Regions from separate parts of the Homo sapiens genome. Here region 1 is linked to region 2. Evidence: promoter capture Hi-C in 16 types of primary human blood cells and fetal thymus (Javierre and others, 2016). All regions are on one chromosome and are shown on one strand. Each heading gives the region's core, a stretch centred on a gene start or on the middle of the fragment in contact. The rest is flanking DNA. Distances are from core to core; before and after follow the strand shown. Region 1 overlaps STOM (stomatin). Region 2 holds the start of CNTRL (centriolin).

Evidence for each region. Contacts are between HindIII fragments. The CHiCAGO score rates a contact against its expected background, and 5 or more counts as called.
Region 1: a contact is called between a fragment that was not itself captured here and the fragment with the promoter of CNTRL in region 2, in 1 of 17 cell types (neutrophils). The highest score is 5.2, in neutrophils.

The regions. Positions count from the first base shown.
Region 1 is chr9:121,354,142-121,361,765 of GRCh38, forward strand. It overlaps STOM (stomatin), which reads right to left. Exons shown (of 7, transcript NM_004099.6): 2 at 1,912-2,015; 3 at 460-532. Among named protein-coding and RNA genes, the nearest start is that of STOM, 12 kb to the right of the region's middle. RefSeq lists an enhancer at 1-81. The HindIII fragment of the contact is 4,677 bases long and covers 697-5,373 here.
Region 2 is chr9:121,070,357-121,077,148 of GRCh38, forward strand. CNTRL (centriolin) reads left to right here and starts at 4,599. Exons shown (of 44, transcript NM_007018.6): 1 at 4,599-4,711. It also overlaps a transcript of C5 not described here. RefSeq lists enhancers at 1,771-1,820, 4,174-4,563 and silencers at 3,863-4,059, 4,684-4,743, 4,864-5,003. The HindIII fragment of the contact is 4,047 bases long and covers 1,525-5,571 here.

The DNA of each region.
Region 1 (7,624 bases), core at 1,785-4,284, 280 kb after region 2:
TCTTTGGTAGAGATTCTCATGCTCAAACTTGTATAGCTGTACTGTTCTTGGCCTAGGTGGTAATCTTATCAGCTCAAATGGGAAGGGGAGGGGAAGGGTAGGAAGGAAAGGGTAACAAAAGATTGGCTAGAACCACTGCTATTGTTATACAACTCCTGCTACATGAACTCTTATCTAAGACAGAGTAGAAGAGGCCCTCATAAGGGAAATCACGTCAATAAAAAAATTTTAGACTGGGCACGGTGGCTCACGTCTGTAATCCTAGTGCTTTGGGAAGCTGGGGTGGGATGATTGCTTGAGGTCAGGAGTTCAAGGCTGCAGTGAGACATGAGCATGCCACTGTACTCCAGCCTGGGCGACGGAATGAAACCCTGTCTTTAAAAAAACAACTACCTAAAAATAAAAAAAATAAAAAGAACTTTAGTTTTCAGATAAACAATCTAGAATCCCAGTACTGACCAGGTCCTTTGGCTCCTCCTTGTAAAATGCGACCCAATCTAAAGATGATGGCTCTTTCATACTCTTTTATAATCTAGAATAAAAACATGAATAATAATTTAACATGAAGAGTACAAATATATACATGCATGGCTTCTTAAATATATATTTCTGCTCTAAACAGATTAGATGCCTCATCTTTTTTCTTTAGAACCAGATCATATCTATAAATCACATGTCCAATGTTTACCTTCTCAAAGCTTATTTATTATTTTCTTACTGATTACAAAAGCAATAGATATTCACTGTATAAATTTAGGAAGGACAGAATAGTATACAGAAACAAATCCATAACCTCACTCCTCAGCTGTTAACATTGTTATTCAGTTACTCATGCAGGCCAGGCACGGTGGCTCACGCCTGTAATTTCAGCATTTTGGAAGGCCGAGGTGGGCAGATCACGGAGGTTAGGAGTTCAAGACCAGCCTGGCCAACATGGTGAAACCCTGTTTCTACTAAAAATACAAAAATTATCCGGGTATGGTGGTGGGTGCCTATAATCCAAGCTACAAGGGAGGATGAGACAGGAGAATCACTTGAACCGAGATCGCACCACTGCACTCCAGCCTGGGCCACAAGGTGACTCCGTCTCAAAAAAAAAAAAAAAAAAATAATAATAATAATAATAATCCCAGCTACACGGGAGGCTGAGGCAGAAGAATCGCTTGAACCTGGGAGGCGGAGGTTGCAGTGAGCCGAGATCGCGCCACTGCACTCCAGCCTGGGCGACAGAGCAAGGCTCTGGCTCAAAAAAAAAAAAAAAAATTACTCATGCATTGTTAATTCAGAAACACAAAAAGCTGAAGTCTTCACAGTTTTTCTTCTGATTCCCTTAAGAATAAATTGATCTGAAAATGCTTGGAGCATATTTTATCTTCTTAGAAATATGTAAATAATAGTCATATATCAAAGTATTAACAACTTTGTAGAAAAAATAACGAGCACTGAGGGTATTTATGACGTGCCAGGCATTGTGATAAGTACATTTAGACACATAATTCATTTAATCCTCGCAACACTCCTATGAAGTAGGTACTGTTACTTTCTCCCATTTTACAGGTGAGGAAACAGCAAAGGTCACACAATAAACAGTAAAGCCAGCAGTCAAACCCTATCATCCTAACTCTGAAGAACTTGTTCTCTCAGAACCATCTCACATCCCTGGCCCCAGGAAATTTTTGATGGTGAAACTTACTTTAGCCCACGGGGAAGGGCAATGGCTGAAAAGAAGTTTTAAGGTTCCATTTTAATAGGTGGGTAGAAGAATAAATTTTCCAAAGAAAGATGAAGAAATAAGAATTATAAGAGAGAGAGACAGTCTGTTTCTTTCTCACATACACACAGGCACACACGAAGTAGGTTTATGGAGGTAGGAGTTGACCCCTTCCCAGAAGTGAATGAAATGTTCTTTACCTTTATGCACATCCATATTGAGATTGGGAAAGTTATAACGGTGAATAAGAATGAGAACGCCACCAAAATCCATCCGCAAGGTCCAAGGCCCTTACTGGGGCTGTCTGTTGAAAACAAAAAATATACAACTCTCACAACTGTTACTAGCATAATCACCACCATCTTCATCCTTACCATTCGCTGAATACCTATGTGCTTGGCACTACACCAGCTGTTTTACATGAATTTCCCCATCTAATCCTCATACAGCCCTGAAGTGTAAGTACTACTTTCCCTTATCTATGTGATGTCATAACACAAGTATATTTCCACATTACTCATTACTTTATTCAGCAAACATTTATTAAGCATCTACTATTTATTAGGCCCTCTGCTTTGTACTGAAATGATAACAATGAGTAAGACCCAATCCCAGCTTTCAGGGTTAAAGTTTAGTGGGAAAGTCAGACAAACACATAATTATAATATTAGGTGGTAAGTACAGATATAGAGTATCTGTTCAGAATATTTTGAAGACACAGAATGAGTTAACTCACGCAGTTAGGATGGAGGTGAGAAAGGAATGGGGCGGGGAGGTGATTCAGGTGGCTGTCAGAGGGTTTCCTGAAGGATGTAATAGTAAGAAAATATCGACGAAAAGAAAGTGGAGGCTGGGCGTCGTGGCTCACGCCTGTAATCCCAGCACTTTGGGAGGCCGAGACAGGTGGATCACTTGAGGTCAAGAGTTCAAGACCAGCCTGATCAACATGATAAAACCCCGTCTCTACTAAAAATACAAAAATTAGCTAGGCGTTGTGGTGAGTGCCTGTAATCCCAGCTACTGGGAAGGCTGAGGCAGGAGAATTGCATGAACCCAGGAGGTGGAGGTTGCAGTGAGCCAAGATTGTACCACTGCACTCCAGCCTGGGCAACAGAGGAAGAATCTGTCAAAAGAAAAGAAAAGAAAAGAAAAAGGAAAGAGGGAAAAGGCATTAGAGCATTTTAGCTAGGAGTACAGTACGAATAAAGGTGAAAACCATATGATATGAGTATAAAGTTGTTTAGAGCCTCTTTTTAAAAATTACACCTGTAAAATATTTCACTAGGTTTATGCAGCATCATTTATTGCCCACTTCCTGATTACACAGGTTGTTTGATTTCTTAGTGCTATAAACAGTGTTGTAGTGAACATCTTTGTACACGGCTTTCCTCTCACATTTCTAATTGTTTCCTGTTCCTGTAATATGCAACAGCTTTTCCGTCTGATTACAAAGGTAATAATGCAAAAAATTCACAGAAGTATAACAAAGGAGGGAAAAATTACTTTAAATTCAGAGGTATTTTGGTATATTCTTTGAAAATTTTCCTAGTGTACACACCATATTTTTAAATGATATATATATATATATTTATTTATTTATTTTTTGAGACAGAGTCTTGCTCTGTTGCCCAGGCTGGAGTGCAGCAGCACAGTCTCACCTCACTGCAACCTCCACCTCCTGGGATCATGCGATTCTCCCGTCTCAATCTCCTGAGTAGCTGGGATTACAGCCACCTGCCACCACACCCGGCTACTTTTTGTATTTAGTACAGATGGGGTTTCACCATGTTGGCCAGGCTGGCCTCGAACTCCTGACGTCAAGTGATCTGCCCACCATGGCCTTCCAAAGTGCTGGGATTACAGGCATAAGCCACTGCGCCCGGCCTTAAATCATATTTTTAAAAATAAATAAATAAATAAAATGTGTAACCTATTTTTCTTCCCTGTAGCTATTCTCTTTCACCTTCTTTTTTGGCCTTCGTGGTTATGCATTTGTGTTTTTGAAGTTACACTTGCATAAAGTTTAAAAAGTCAAACCATTCTATATGATTAGTACAAAAAAAGGGCATTCCCATGCTCACCTCTTCCAATTTCCTCCTCCTCAAAAACATTTGCTATTTTGACCATTTTGATATCTACCTCCATATTTCTAAATAATACGCTTTGCAGCTGGGTGCAGGGGTCACACCTGTAATCCCAGCACTTTGGGAGGCTGAGGAGGGAGGATCCCTTGAGCCCAGGGGTTTGAGACTAGCTTGGGCAACATAGGGAGACTCTGTCTCTACTTTAAAAAAAAAAAAAATAATAATAATAATATGCTTCTGCCAGGCATGGTGGCTCACGCCTGTAATCCCAGCACTTTGGGAGGCCGAGATGGGAGGATTGCTTGAGCTCAGGAGTTTGAGACCAGCATGGGCAACCTAGTGAGACTCCCATCTCTACTTGAAACTTCTTAAAAAAAATTAGCTGTGTGTGGTGGCACACACCTGTAGTCCCAGCTACTGAGGAGACTGAAATAGGGGGATTGCTTGAGCCTGGGGGTTCGTGGCTGCAGTGAGCTGTGATGTACCCCAGCCTGGACAACAAAGTGAGGAAAGAAAGAAAGAAAGAAAAGGAAGGAAGGAAGGAAGGAAATGCTTGTTTTGTTACTTCTTGCTTTTTCAGTTTTGAGGACTATTAACTTTCTACTACAGAAAAAGATTTAGTTCTCTTTCCTCCCCGTTACCCCCACCACATACTTATACCCAGCTTTCCAATATAATTACATCATAACTTCATTTAGATCAATATGAGATTTTATATTATGAATTTGTAAGTGCAATTTAAAGCTAAGCCAAGTAGTGAGGTATCACTGGTTTTCTCTTCCTGTACTATTTTTGTTTTTTCTGGAATTACTGTCTTATTTTTTCCCTTTGTTCGGTTTTCAACGTACTTATTGATCCAACCTTAAATCAATTGCCTAAATTTCCTCTCAAAGAGGTCAGGTATACTATCAATTTTATCTTCTGGAAGAATTCTCTCTCAGAGCCTTGTGTGGACTTCCTTCATCTGGTGTGCACGGCTATCATTCTGCAATTGCTTTCACTATCATCCTGGGAACTCCCATCACCTCAGTGTTGTGTTCCTATTTTCTGTATCAAGTGTCATCCTCATTTTTAGTTTGCTTTTGCTTTCTGTAGAGGACATAGGGACTGAGAAGGCCAAGGGATATAGTAGGTTTTCTTATCAACCACTTGGAAGGCTTCTGCTGTATTTTCAGGAGCTATTTTAATGACAGAGGGGAGAAAAGGTATGCCAGGCACATGTTACTGCTCAGAAGAAAGGGCAAAATGGCAGTAAGATGGGGCTTGGAATAAATAGGAGGCCAAGAAATAAGCAGAGTGTTCAGGCTGGGAACATGGGAGAAGAGAGACACATGTTGGCACCCAGGTCAAGTGCTCTAAAACATAGGATGAAAAATCAGAAATATAGTGAGTACTTGGGTTGTATGTGACTTGGTAGTTTTCTGATCCTGTGTTATAGTGTGAGGTAAATGTCTTCATGTATACTTAAATAAAATGATCTAAAGTAATCCTGGAGGTTTCTAAGTTATAATTTAGGGGGTACAGACATATTCATTGAGAGAATATTCAAAGCAGGGCCATAGTACTGTTTGTGAAGAAAGCTTTATCTAGTATTACCATGACTGATCATAGCAACAGTGGCTGTTTTGAGGGGTTGTGTATACCCCAGGCATTTTTTAAAGTTACTTTAGACATGTATCTCATTTAACTCTTACAACAGCCCTGTGAGGGTATTTTTAAATCCCTTTTACAAATGAGTTACCTAAAGCAACATTTAACTTTCCCAAAGTCACACAATGGAAGACCTGGGACTCAAATATGGGTCATCTTACTCCAAAGCCCGTGTTCCAAATTCACCCCTCAATAAAAAAAATCCTCATTAAGAATGTTTTCGTGGTTGAGCACTTTCTCAAGACAGTATCCAAACTGAAAAGCATGGCTGGAGTTGTGAGAATGAAATCTGATATTTTTACAGAGGAAGTCCTCTTAATGCCAGCCATGCCTATTTATAGCAAAAGATAGTTTCAAGGCTCTGTGACAGACACAGGTCTAGGTTTCCAGGGTGAAATGAATTCCAAACAAGGACAGACTGACCACAAATACTTATTTATCTGACAGCATTTGGTGCCTTTTCAAATACTGTCCAAGTCTCCCATAACATACTAGAGTAAAAACTCCCTGAGGGCAGGGATGTTGCTTATTCACTTTTATATTCTCAATGTCTAGCACAGTATCCTGCATAGTAGAATAGATATAAAATAAAATACTTCTCAGCAAGTTTTCTAGCTAGATATGTCTTTTTCTTTCCTTTGAATCTCGATAGCATTTTTTGAAAATTATCTTATGGCACTTATATCTTGTCTAATCTTTTATTTTTTATTTATTTTTAATTGACCTTCCAATGTAGGATTTTAATCTTTTATTATTTTTTAATCTAATATTTTAATTTCTTGTGCATTTATATCCCTTATTACACTGAGATTCCCTGAGAACGAGGAGTAACTATGTTTGAATTTCACTTCTGATACTTCTTAGTTGCATGATCTTTACCTCTTTGAACCTTAGTTTCCTTACCGGTGGAAAGTAAAGATTATTAGGCTGGCCTTGTAGAATACAGATAAAATGATCAGTAAATGTAGATGATAGTTTTCTGTAATCCTTCTATTTTACTTAAGTGTTTGTATCTTCATGAAGAAAAATGGGAAAATAGCATTTACCCTTTTTGATCAAAAGCCTCTTAAACAATTTAATTTGCCATTTGCTTCATACCTGCCCCCAGTCTGGCTAGGCTGGGACATTCAAAGACTCTCAAAAAGTTCATTTATGATCTACATGAGGACAAGCCAAAAAGTTCAGCCCAGTTTTTTTTGTGTCAGTTCCCATGTCACATTGTGTTTTTGAGAACCCCAGATGTGTATATGGGATTGCAAATCACCAGGAACAAGGAATTAAGTACACATTTTGAAAACTGGATTTGGTCTTTCACATATCAAATGCTTGGCTAGAAATAATCAGTGTATACACTGGGAAAATGGCACTTTCATATTTTTCTAATGACTTTAAAATGAAAGTATCCTACCTTCACCTCTCAAAATTCTTCCCCACCTGGTTACCCCTCAAAAAGGTACACAGTATCTAAGTTGGGAATGCATCACTAGAGTTCTGAGACTGAAATCTGATGTTTTTACAGAGGAAGCCCTCTTAATTCCAGCTGTGTCTATTTATAGCATGTTGTGCTATAAATGCATAGCTCAGAGGTGAGGCTTAAACTCTAGCAGGCTTATAAATGAACCCTTAGTCATCTACCACTTCTGGGAATAAGAGAAAAGAAATTCTCACTCACTAAAATCTCAGGAAATTCATTTCCTTCAAGTTTCCCATGTATTACTTTAGGACTGAATCCTTCCTACCAGTTTTATGGGGAAAGGGACAAATAGTGATATTTTGGTTAATACACTTGTGGACTTTTTTTTTTTTTTTTTTTTTTTTTTTAGATGTAATCTCACTCTGTCGCCCAGGCTGGAGTGCAGTGGCGAGATCTCGGCTCACTGCAAGCTCTGCCCCCTGGGTTCACGCCATTCTCTTGCCTCAGCCTCCCCAGTAGCTGGGACTACAGGTGCCCACCACCATGCCTGGCTAATTTTTTGTATTTTTAGTAGAGACGGAGTTTCACCGTGTTAGCCAGGATGGTCTTGATCTCCTGACCTCGTGATCCTCCGGCCTCGGCCTCCCAAAGTGCTGGGATTACAGGCGTGAGCCAATGCACCCGGCCACTTGTGGGTATTTTGCTGGTTGAGAATGTTCCTAAAAATTAGGGATCCTATGATACTTGGTTGTAAATACTACTTTG
Region 2 (6,792 bases), core at 3,349-5,848:
GAAAGAAAGAAGGAAGGAAGGAAGGGTGATATATATATATATATATATATATATATATATATATATATATGTATGTATATTCTGTATGTGTATATATATATGTATATTCTGTATGTGTATATATATGTGTGTGTGTGCGTATTCATATATATATACATACATACTTACAATGGAATACTATTCAGCCATAAAAAAGAATGAAATACTGTAATTCACAGCAACACGGATGGAAATGGAAGACAGTATATTACGTGAATAAGCCAGGAACAGTAAGTTAAATGCCACATGTTCTCAGTCATATGTCGAAGCTGAAAAATGTTGATCTCATAGGAGTAAACAGTAGAACAGAGGATACTAAAGGTTGGGAAGGGTAGCAGGGGGAAGGGAAGGAGAGAAAGATATCTTAAAGGATACAAAATTATAGCTAGATAGGAGCAATAAGTTCTAGTGTTCTATACTTACTATAGGATGAGGATAGTTAACAATAATATATTATATAGTTTCAAATAGCTAGAAGGAGGGTATGAAATCTTCCTAAAATAAACATATGATGTTTGGGATGATGGATATGCTAATTACTCCAACCACTATACATTTATATGTATTAAAACATCACTATGTATCCCATAAATATGTACAGTTACTACATGTCATTTAAAAATAAAAATTAAGGTTGGGTATGGTGACTCACACCTACAAACCTAGCACTTTGGGGGACCAAGGCAAGCGGATACTTGAGGCCAGGAGTTGAAGACCAGCCTGATCAACATGGTGAAGCACTGTCTGTACTAAAAATACACACACATACACAAAAATAGCTGGGCGTGGAGTCACACACCTGTAATCACAGCTACTGGGGAGGCTAAGGCACAAAAATTGTTTGAACCCTGGAGGTGGAGGTTGCAGTGAGCCATGATCGTGCTACTGCACTCCAGCCTGGGCAACAGAGTGAGACTCTGTCTCAAAAAAACAAAAACAAGAACAAAAAACAAAACACACCAACAAAAACAAAAAAAAATAAATGAATAAAAATTAAAAAAAAATCAGGCTGGGCATGCTGGCTCATGCGTGTAATCCCAGCACTTTGGGAGGTTGAGGTGGGAGGATCGCTTGAGCCCAGGAGTTTAAGACCAGCCTGGGCAACACAGCAAGACCCCATCTTTACAAAAAGTTTAAAAATTAGCTAGGTGTGGTGGTGCACACCTATAGACTGAGCTATTTGGGAGGCTGAGGGAGGAGGATCACTTGAGTCTGAGAAGTCAAGGCTGCAGTGAGTTATGATTGTGTCACTGCACTGAAACCTGGGTGACAGAGTGAGACCTTGTCTTAAAAAACAAAACAACAAAATCACACTGGCCAGTCACAGAAAGAAATGGCAATAATGAAAGTTGCCATCCCTGTCTGACAAACTAGTCTGTTTCTTCTCTAAAACAAATTCGCAAAATGATTAAACTGGGTTGCAAAAAGCTGAGGGAAGTTTAAACAGAATAGCTTTGCTATCATTTGGAAAAAAGACTGAGTAAAAGCTTGGTCACCCTGACGTGGCTAATATTTGTATTGTAAATGCAACTCAGAGTACATTCTTCATAATATCAGATAAAGAAAAATAGTGTGGAACGCGAGTTGTCTGCGTTACTTTCGTATTCTCACTTCTGCTTTGGAGAAGGAAGTTCTTTTAGCATGCTAAGAGAGACAGTTAATATTCAAATTAACTGGAGAAAGGTCTCTCCTTTGAAGTCTCTAGCTTCGTTAGAGATGATGCTAGACACCAGCAGAGGTCTGTATGAGGAGGAAAAGGGGGCAACATGGGACCGGTGAGTGCCCATCCGCGGCTAACTGGATACGGACTGAGAGATCACCCAAGAGAAAAGTGTTTTGCGCCACCCTCTGGACTTTTTATGTATATTTGATGGCTATTAATTGATACTAATATGATTGATAATGAACTACATCAGCACACCACGGCTTGATAATGGATCCCACGTGAATACCATTACAGACTTTGAGGGACACAGCAATGAGGTTACGCAATAAATCTAAGTTTCTGGGTACAAGAAACCGAAACGATGGGTGTCAAAACATATGCAAATAGAACTGAAACTCAGCAACGTACACATTCCAATCTAATAAATATCACCTGAACTTCGATTAAAAATGAATGTAATCTCGGCAGGGCGCGGTGGCTCACGCCTGTAATCCCAGCACTTTGGGAGGCCGAGGCGGGCGGATCACGTGAGGTCAGGAGATTGAGACCAGCCTGACCAACATGGTGAAACTCTGTTTCTACTAAAATACAAAAATTAGCTGGCCTTGGTGGTGCGTGCCTGTAATCCCAACTCCTCGGGAGGCTGAGGCAGGAGAATCGCTTGAACCCGGGAGGCGGAGGTTGCACTGAGCCGAGATCCTGCCACTGCACTCCAGCCTGGGTGACAGAGCCAGACTCTGTTCAAAAAATTAAAAAAAAAAAAAAAAAAAAGAAAAGAAAAAAAATGAATGTAATCTCCTCTTAAGTGGAGCTTTTCAAAAATTCTGCGTTTAAACTCCAAGGGCTTCGTTCTGTGTCGTGTAAATAGTTGGGGAGAGGACAGCACCATTCACTTAAATGTCAATGGGAATCACATTTAAGTAAAAGGAAAAGGAAATCAGTAAATCAAAGTAAATCAAAGACACATCTGCATCCCCATGTTTATTGCAGCTTATTCCCTGTTGGACGTCCCCTGAATTTCCTATAGAGGTGAAGCCATCTCTGCCTTAAGGAAAAATGAAGTGCCTAATACTGCTTATAATATGGTCCCTTTTCCAGATTTAGCTTCTCCACCCCAGATTTTTGCACAAGCCATACTGAACTACTTCATGTTTCCATACTCATGTTTTGTTCCAGCCACACTGAATTACTTAACATTCAGCACATTGCCAAGCTCTTTTCCCCCGCTTCCGGGGTTTGCACAAGTTGTTCCCTTTGCCAAGCAAATTCTTCCCCACCTCCCTACTCCTTGCCTAAACTCTTCTTTTGGGCGTAGAAAGAAGTATTGCTTCTGGGTAACCTTTGTCTAATAATGAAATATCTAAGACATATTGAGAACTTACTATGGGTCCCTCACTGTTCTAAGTTCTTTCACAGAGATTCACTTTTATAATTATCAGGAAAACTGGACTTTTTTTTTTTTTTTTTTTTTTTGAGATGGAGTCTCGCTCTGTCGTCCAGGCTGGAGTGCAGTGGCGCGATCTCGGCTCACTGCAACCTCCGCCTCCCGGGTTCAAGCGATCCTCCTGCAGCCTCTCAAGCAGCTGGGATGACAAGCGTGCGCCACCACGCCCGGGTAATTTTTGTATTTTTAGTAGAGACGGCGTTTCACCTTGTTGGCCAGGCTGATCTTGAATTCCTGACCTCAAGTGATCCTCCCACCTTGGTCTCCCAAAGTGCTGGGATTACAGGCATGAGCCACAGCGCCCGGCCAGGATTCACTTTTATAATTATCAGGAAAACTGTAGGAAGTGTTAATAGGTAAAAGGACCTCATTTCATAGATAAGGAAACTGAGACACAGAGAGAGAGGGAGTTTCTAAAAGTGTTATACAGGTGGCCTATAAACTCTGTAGTGAAGAAAGGAAATGAAGACAGGATAGAATGATCGCGAGAAAATGGTAAGAACAAGGGACTGGAAGACGCAAGGAAGTTTAGAAATACGCTGGCATAGGGGTCTTTTGAGCAGGCACGCTGCTAAGATGATAGGATTATAGTCAAGGATGGGGAGCGATTGCACTGGGGATTTCTGGAGCGGGTGCAGCCTCTGATGGTAACATGGTCCAGGGTATACCTTCAAAACGGGAGGCTACTGGAGTGAAAGGCGTCAATGGTGATAACACTTTAAAAAAAACTTCAGTGTTTCCCTAGCATCCAGCCCAGTATCTGCTAAATTCTTTAAAATATCTGTTGAATGCATGTCGTGAACGCCGTGCTCATGGGCAAGCCCCAGATGAAGCCTGTGCAAGTGCTTCTTGCTTTAACTCCCTTGTAGCAATCAGAGGAACATCCTCTGCCTAGGATTCCCAAGCTCCCTGAACCTCACGCGACAGCTGGAGCCCAGGCTGCGTCCGCTTTGAGGTTCATCCGAGCCTGGGCAGTTCGGTCCCTGGAGGGAATTCGCTTTAGATACGACTGTCAGAGAGAAGTGTGCTGATAAGAACACTCGCTCATAGCGCGCAAGCATCAGAAGTGGGGGAGGCCGGGGAGGCGCTGCGCCGGTGCCTCAGGCCGTCCTCGGACACAGGCCCTGAGAAGCGTGTCCGTGTTTCAGAGGGTGGCGGCGGCAGCTTTGTCTCAGCGAAGGCCACAGCACTGCGGGCAGCTGCCGCATGAAACCTCGGCTCCCCCTGACTCTGCACCCGACACTTCACCTGCAACGCAATCCGAAGGCGAAGGCACCGCATCCCGTCGGCCCCGCGCGGCCGGAAGCCTCGCGCCCAAGACTCCCCGGCATCCTAGCGCGCTGGCTGCAAAAGAGGCGGGAAACGCCTCCGCGTCCCTTCCAACAGTACCGGAGAGGGAGAGGGGCGTGGCTGAGACTAGCCCCGACCACGCGCGCGCGGCCCCTCGGCAACCGGCACAACACAACAAAATGGCTGCCGCGCCGCTGGGCCCCTGAGGAAAGAGCCCGAACTTCTCCCGCTCTACCTCAGCCTGCGGGACTGCTCGGCTCGGCTTCTAGGCGGTGAGCGTCAGACCTGGCCGAGCCCGTTCCCCGGCATCCGGCCCGAGCAGTGGGGGCCGGCGGCAAAGGCGGGAAGGCCCGGACCGGGCGTGGTGTGGGCCGGCTTGGGATGGATTCGGGGCGGGGGCGCGTGTCTGGGAATTGGGATTGGACGGGAAAGAGGGGAGGGCCCGGAACGGGCGTGGGGCGGTGGATGAAGGAGGGAGGTTTGGATGGGAAGAGGTGGGGACGGCGGGGGCGATTGGGGATGAAGAACCAGAGTGTGGGGAGGTGTGGAAGTTAGGGTGCGGCGCCCAGAAGGTTGTGGGTCCTGCCACCTGAGCTGAGGGGAGAGCTGGGATGTGCCAGCTGTCTGTGGGGAGTGAGCGGGAGAAAGGACAGTTTGGGCGTCCTGACGGGTTGTCACGGTATCGGACGGAGTACAGTGCGTGGAGAAAGATGACAGGATATGGGGACGAAATGCTAAAAGAAGGGGAAGAACAAACACTTCCGTTATATTCGTTAAGGGACTAGAGAATTTTGAAGCCAGACAAACTTGGGTTGAAGCCTCAATTCTGCCACCTTGTGTAACTTAACCAGGTCTGTGACCCTGGATATGTGTCTGAGCCTTCCTGATCATGTTTCCTCATTTGTCCAAATAATTGCGAATCATTTTTGGGTGTTCACTATTTGTCAGATCCAGTTTTAAGCACTTTGCACGTATTAACCTCATTTAGAATTTAAAATAACTTGTATGAGGTTATCATCCCCATTTAAAAAGTGATAGCACTGAGGACCAGAGAGGTTAAGTAATTTGCCTAAGATCACACAGTAAGTGGAAAATCAGAATTTGAACTCAGGCTGTTTCGTTCCAGAATCCAAGCTTTTAACTGTTCAGGTACATTGCCATTTGTAAATCAGGTTAATAATTCTGATCCTATACAGCTAAATCTTTGAGGATTTAAATTTGGTATTGTCTAAGTGTTTAGTACAGTCCTTCAGTCAACAAATATTTATTGTTTATAGAACAACAGACAAAACCTCTGCTCTCTTGTAGCTTATAGTCTAGAAGGAGAAACAGGCAACAACCAAGTAGTTTCACAAATAATGGTTATAAAATGCTATGAAGGAGACTGCTTGGTGCAGAGATCATGGGTAATAGGGAGATAAAATCTTCTGCATCTTGAGCTTAGATTCTAGCATGGTTCTTCCTACATAAAAGTTGCTCAATAAAATTGAATAATTAATGGAAAGAGATGGGAAGCTTGAGTTTTAGGGTATCTGAGCAGAAGAAGAGAGATGGGAGAGGGGATTCAGGCTTTTAATAGGATGGAGAAGGATACGGGGGCTAGAGTATTAGGATGGAAAGGCAAATAGGCAGGCAGTTGGGTTGGGATGAAGAGGAATGGATGGAGGTTTGAGTATTTTGTTTAGGGAGGGGAGTAATTGGAGGTCAGAGTATTGGAACGCATTAGGATGTCAGGGTATTTTCTGGGGTGAAGAGAGATGAGCAGCTTGGGAAGTCTGGATGGATAGAGAAATGTTGAGTCTGGGCACAGGAAAGAACCATAGAGAAATGGGGGAGACTATTACTGTGTTAGGGAACTGGGATAGAATTTGTGGGAAAATTGGCAATCAGAATGGGATAAAGAAGAATGGGAGGCAGAGGTGGGTGGGCAGCACAGAATGGGGGAATTGGCTTTGGAAAGAAAAATGGCTGGAGACTTTGCAGAGGAATCGGAATCAGGATATTTGAAAGGAGGAGAAGATTAAGGAGTAAAAGTATTTCAGTAGGTCAGAGGGTATGGGATGAAGTAGACTTGGAAAGTACTGAAATCCAATTAAAGGGCTAAGGAGAGGGATATGGGGGTTAATAAATGGGGATGGGTATTTGCATATTAGGGAGTCTGTAGAGAGACAGAAGGAGGTCTGCGTTATTTGGAGATCAGAGAAGATGGGAAGTTAGGAAGGTTAGGAAAGGCTGGATGGAGGTGGAGTTTGCAGTCTGTACTAAGCTGTGATGGACTGAATTGTTAGATCAGAGCAACTATCTGGGTTTATAGGTGGCAGGATGGGTAGTGTTTTGTTGCCTGGACGTAGGA